2 separate regions of the Homo sapiens genome follow, and region 1 is linked to region 2. Evidence: promoter capture Hi-C in human tissues and cell types (Jung and others, 2019). All regions are on one chromosome and are shown on one strand. The core of a region is centred on a gene start or on the middle of the fragment in contact, and the rest is flanking DNA. Distances in the headings are between cores, read along the strand shown.

The links. Contacts are between HindIII fragments. The study calls those that stand out against the background at their distance.
Region 1: a fragment that was not itself captured here is called in contact with the fragment with the promoter of GPX3 in region 2 in 1 of the 25 tissues and cell types used here (pancreas).

Annotation. Positions count from the first base shown.
Region 1 is chr5:150,781,548-150,784,556 of GRCh38, reverse strand. The region is part of intron 1 of SMIM3 (small integral membrane protein 3); the gene reads right to left. Among named protein-coding and RNA genes, the nearest start is that of SMIM3, 4.3 kb to the right of the region's middle. The HindIII fragment of the contact is 5,049 bases long and covers 1-3,009 here.
Region 2 is chr5:151,019,322-151,022,365 of GRCh38, reverse strand. It overlaps GPX3 (glutathione peroxidase 3), which reads right to left and starts at 1,775. Exons shown (of 5, transcript NM_002084.5): 1 at 1,625-1,775. The coding sequence starts at 1,711. RefSeq lists an enhancer at 1-330. The HindIII fragment of the contact is 19,688 bases long and covers 1-3,044 here.

The sequences.
Region 1 (3,009 bases), core at 401-2,900, 240 kb after region 2:
AAGTGATTTTCTATTTTTAGGTACCTAATCTCAGAATTATAAGGAGAAATAGACAAATCTGCAATTATAGTGGGAGATTTCAAGATGTCTCTCTCAGATCTTGTGGGGAAAGGCAGGATGAGCAGAATAGATGTTATCAACAAAGCCCAGAGTTGATGAGATACATGAAGTGTTGGAAGCATATGGAGTCCTGGTGGCTTTGGCAAGAGGTTTAACCTCTTTGAGCTTTAGTCTCCTAATTTGTAAAATGGAAATAATAACTAATAATTGTAACCACTTCATAGGGATGCTCTGGAGGTTAAATGAGCTAATGCGCATAAAGCACTTAGGACAACGTCTGGTACACAGTAAGGGCTTCACGAAGTTAAGCTGAGCTAGTGAACCCGGCATCGTTCCTAAATCACAAGGTCAAGAGATGGAGACCATCCTGGCCAACATGGTAAAACCCTGCCTCTACTAAAAGTACAAAAATTAGCTGGGTGTGGTAGTGCACACCTGTAGTCCCAGCTACTCGGGAGGCTGAGGCAGGAAAATCGCTTGAACCCAGGAGGTGGAGGTTGCAGTTAGCCAAGATCACACCACTGCTCTCCAGCCTGGTGACAGAGTGAGATTCCGTATCAAAAAAAAAAAAAAAAAAAAAAAGGGAGTTCAAAGCCTCTGCCATTAGTTAGGGTGCCGTGACTGCTTCGTGACTGATCTGGGCCCAATGTAGGAAACCACAGTGAAAAGTTTTTTTAAGTAAAAAAATTTTAAGCTGTCCCCAGCTTGAACCTCCCACCGGAAACTTACACCCTCCACATCCGAGCTGCAACTAACAGTCAACTTTTGAGAGCTTGCCAATGGTTATCCAACCGGTTTTACTGCCAGAGTTCACTGAGGAAGAAGGCAATAAAAGAAGTGACTGCCTGCTGGCAGGCAAGCTTAATTATCTCAAAGTGGGAGACAAGGCAGATAGAGGCAGGTGGCTTCCTGCAGGTGTGGCCTTAGCCCAGCACTGCCAGAACTCTGGGCAGACCATGCTGCTGCTGTTTTGTTTCCACCAGCCACGGTGGCCAGAGAGCAGACAGCTATAACCAGCTCCAAGTCACTGATGCTGAGGCGTCCAAAGATACATGACTCTTCAAGTATTTTGCAGAATGTGAACAAGGCTGATGGTTCCCAGGGCACAGGACTAGAGGGTTTGCCAGCATTGTCCACCTTATAGGACCCCTTCCAAAAAGTCTCCACCCTCAGAAGATGCTGCTGAGGTTGTCAAGGAAGAATGGAACATTTAAGCCAGAGAGGGCAATTCAAGTTCCTAGATGGGGCCACACTGGCCACTTTGTAGCCTGGGGAACCTAACAACTGTGTCCCAGGGGCTGATCCCACTTGAAGAACTTTGTGTTTGCTGTTCCTTCTCAGAATGCTCTTTTCCTCCCCTGTCCATTGTCTCAATGTCCATGACCTCAACCTAAATGTTACGTTTTAGTAAAGTTTTTCCCGACCCACTCTGTTAAACTATCACTCTTATCTTGTTTTATTTTCTGCATATGCTTTTCACAATCTAAAATTAGCTTGTTTGTTGCTTGTTTGTTTTTATTGGCTTTTTTCCTATCAGGCTAAAGACTTGTTCATTTGCTCCCTCAAACGCAAGCACAGGGAGAGCAGAAGCCTCACCTCTTGTGTATTGCTGTGTCCTCAGCACCTATCACAGGGCCTGGCATATCACAAGTGCCAACAAATATGAAATCAATGAAGAAATGAATATGGGAAGATTATTTCAGATGTGAGCTCACTCGTGGAACCTAATTGACTGAAGAGGTCCAGAAAGAATCCTCATCCCTGCAAAAGTCCCAGTGATTCTAAAAGTCAGAACACTATCTCCAAAATAACATGATGTCCTCTGATTTTATCATTTTCTGGGCTCTTTGTACATTCAGGAAGGATTATGGGGGGCTCTTTCTTCCCCAGCCCACCCTGTACATACCAGGCAGAAGAGAACTGGCCTTTCAGAACGAAGCCCTCTAGGATTCCCACTTGTTGATTTGCTTGGGCCGATAAGCTCAAATTCGAGTTCTGACTCCATGTGCTCAGGAGCTGGGGACTGAGGTGGGGAGGAGGGACCAGGGGTGAGGGGAGCAGTGATGTTGCCCAAGATGTGAATCTTTCTGTTCTTAGAAGAGGTCAGGGAGGCTGATAAAAGTGGGGGCAGGTTTCCCATGCCAAGTCCAATATGAGAAGGACATACCAGCTTCACATTTACTCTTGGAAGTATTTCTCCTCCCACTGTGTAACAGCCTCAAACATTTACCAACCCAGCACAGTCATTTCACCAGGGACCTTTGGTCCAAATAAAGGGGCCAGAGGAAGGAATGGACAGGACATACAACTACCAAAAATGTGAAATGAATCAAATCACAGCCTTTTCTCCAATGACCCAAAGTCCCTAAGGAGCACTCTGTTCTCATTTCACCCCAACTGGCCCCTGTCTCTCCAAACTTCCTAACAGACTACAGACCTGCCTGAGTTTCCATCTGCTCCTCTGTGGCTGGAAAAATGGAAAAACACCAAGATATTTCAAAGAGATCGGAACACAGCCAGAGCTGTGTAAGACCGCACGTACCATCTGACCCAGCCAATCACAGAGTCTTAGAAACCAACAGAGAGCTAGCAGAGGAGAAAGCCCAGGCCAAATCCCCAGCATCCTGTTTAAGGCACTACTATCCATCATTGCTATTTGCCAGTGACTAAGTGCCTGCTGTGTGTCGGGCTAACAAAGGAGACTGTCCATGAGAGGTGCTGGCAGGGTGCTCCGTGACAGAGCTGCAAGAGCACCGGGCGGTGGTAGTGCCTTGCCTCAATGTGTGAGCCTCAACAGGTCGCTCTCCCAAAGTCAGCCTCATGTGTGTGGAAAGCAGAATAATGCCCACCACCACCACCACCAAAGACATCTATGTCCTGGTCCCCAGAATCTTGAATATGATCCTATATAGTGGGTCACTAGCAAGAAACATATCCAATCAGCCAATC
Region 2 (3,044 bases), core at 526-3,025:
TTCTCTCTGAGTCCATTTATCCTTCCCCAGAGTGCTGCAGAGAAGACACAGCTATGATGAGTTATTCATGGAGTCCACGTTCTCCCCACTAGCCTTCTTGAGGCAGGGCCCAATTGTATCTTCTTTGACCTTTCCAAAACTGAAGGTTGGGACTGACTCCACGGTGCTGGCCTGTCTATGGCCCACCCCAAACCTCAATGTTGAAAATCGATCCCATTCCTGACCTGGAAAATGCCTTCTGAGTTGGGGATTATGAACAGGGATGGATAAAAAGGAGGGGACTTGGACGAAGTGGCTTCACATCCATTTAGACTGACTCCAAGGAGAGGCTGATTAATCGGATTTAGGCTGAGGACCGAAAAGGGGTGAGTAACATGGAAGGAACCCTGTGCTTCCAATGGGCTTCCTGAGAAGTGGACAGAATTTTGGAAACGGAATCCTAGACTCATAAGAACTTAATTAAAGTGAAGACCCAGAGGATTTTAGAAACAAAAGCTCAGAGCTTGCAAAAATGTGAGTTATGCATGTTGGGAAGTTGGAGACAGAAATCGCTCGCTTTGAGTCTATCCCTACACCTGGCTTCTGCCTCCTTCCCCACCCACTCCCACTCCCTGGGTAGAGGAGAGGTCTACAGAGCCCACCCCAGTACATACTGTCAAAGGAGATAAGCATGCTGGGTCATCCCACTCCTGGCCTCAGTATCCCCACTCCAGGTGTGGGCCACACACCTGCTGGAAATAGACTGAGGCTCTAGAGAATTCTACCTCTTCTTCTGAATTAGCAGTCCCCAGCTTTCTCCAACTACCAGGTTTCCTCAGGCTAATGAGGACAGTGGGTCCTGGGTAGTGAGGCTGCCCCAGGGGAGGAAATTTCAGAGAACAGCTTGTGGATTTTTCAGCTTCTCCAAGCATCCCCTCTGAGGCCCTCAGCTTCATTGTGCCCCATGCACTCCCACCCCCAAACTCTCCCCTGCAGATGGAGAAACGGGGGTCCAGGAGCAGGTAAGGACTCAGGGTCCTGAGTGTTCTGCACTGTCACTCCAGAGCTCTTTCTAGCACAGATCTCTGCCTCTTCTACCAATGCCCTGAATCCAAGTGGCCATTTCTACCTGCCTGTATCATTCTTGGGGTAGAAGAGCCCCCCACAGCAGTTCTTCAGGACCAGGACCACCCAGCTGCCTCTCTCCTTTCTCCTTGTCTCTCTCCCTGGGAACTTGCACAGCCCACCCAGACGCTGGGCATTTTTTTCTGTGACGCCCTCCCTCTTAGGCCCTACTGAAGGGGAGCAGCTCAGGCACGGAGGTGACATAGATGTAGCAAGGCGACCCTCGAGGTGGCAGTGGGGAGAAAGTGCGAGCTCGGGGAGAGAGACCTTCCTCCCTTAGTCATTCTGCCCGCCTGAAGCACCAGGTCTCGGCTCTCCAACAGATGGAACTACGAGACGACGACGGTCGGGGGCGGGGTCCCGGCGGCGGAGGGGGCGGCAAAAGGGGTTCAGGAGGTCTCTCGCACCTGGGGATTGCCCATCTGGCGGGGAGCCTGGGAAAAGGGGTGCATTGCACTGAGCGCTGGACACCGAGGGGCTAGGTTTTTTCTCCCGGCCCCCGGCCCGGAGGCTCACTCACCTTCGACTTCTCTTGTCCCCGGCTCTGCGAGACGAAGCCGGCCAGGAGCAGGGAAAGCAGGCAGGACGCCTGCAGCAGCCGGGCCATGGCGGGGTGGGGGCACACTCAGGGTCGCCTGAGCCGCTGCCTGATCCCTGGCCACCGTCCGTCTGAGGTGTCCGGCGCTCCCAGCCACCTTTCAAGCCCTCGGGTGTGACCAATCCGCGGCCAAGCCGAGACCCTTGCAGCCAATCGCTAGGCGGCTGGGATTTCAGGGGCGGGCGCGACTTGCCCTCAGCTCCCCACCTCCCCGTCCCGGGGCGACAGTGACATAAGCAAATCTGGGCAGAGAGGTGGAAGTCAGGTCCCTGTGGACGTGGGAGGCGGTCCCTTCCTCTTTTGGCTCCAAAGTGCGAAAGGAGGCAGACACAGCGGTCTCCATTACAGCCAGGGCAAGGGGGCTAATAGCTCCCTAGAACTGATGGAAGTCTCCATTCTGGGAAGCATTTCTTATTCCTATCGAGGTTTTAAAAACACCTGGCGATGGTCCTCTGGAAATTGAGGGTTTAAAATTTCAGCAAGAGCTGAAGTTAAACTTCCAGAAACATTTACTATATATAGGTTTAGTGCTTAAGAAACAAAGAGTGGGTGTCCTGGGATTTTGAAAACCCCATTCTGGGTAGGGCATTAGGACTGTAGGGACAGAGAAGGTGGGGTGCCTTTCCTCCCCATCATAAGGATCACAGCTGACATGCCTGTAGAAAAAGGTTAGCAAGAGAAAAGCATAACGATTTATTTAATTAAAGTTTTCTGTGACATGAGAGTCTTCAGAAATGAAGACCCAAAGACTCAAGGAAAACTCTATTTTTAGGCTTAGATTCTATGAAGACCATGGAAATGCGCAGAAATGTGAGTGGGGAAAAAGGGAATGGTCTAATAGTAATAAACTGAGTGGGAAACCCAGCAAGGCTTGTCTGTTCGTATTCTTCTTGGCCTATCTGTGGCCAAACCACCTGGCTTAGAAGCAGAAAATAAATTTGCTCCCTGTGTAGTCTTTAACATGTTGCAGTTACTCTCTGGGCCTCAGTTTCCTCAGCTATGTAATGATGGGATTGATTAGTGATCTCCAGTGCCCTTCTGGCTCTGGCTAGATGACTTGTTTCTAAAGTAAGTGACAGACGGAGACCAGGAGTCCTTTGAGAATAGGGCCCATAATCACCACCTGGCACAGGGCCTAGCACACAAGAGATGTAAAGTATTTGCTGACTTAATCATTCATTACATTAAAAAAACAAAATCTCCATGGAACACTTAGGATCAGACCAGGCAGTTCTAGGGCTGGGCTGTCTAGGTATGATCCCGTTCACAGATGGGGAATGTGATGGAATCAGTCTCAAATCTCTCTGACCACCAGAGTCAACTGGGAAGCCTTTAATACAGA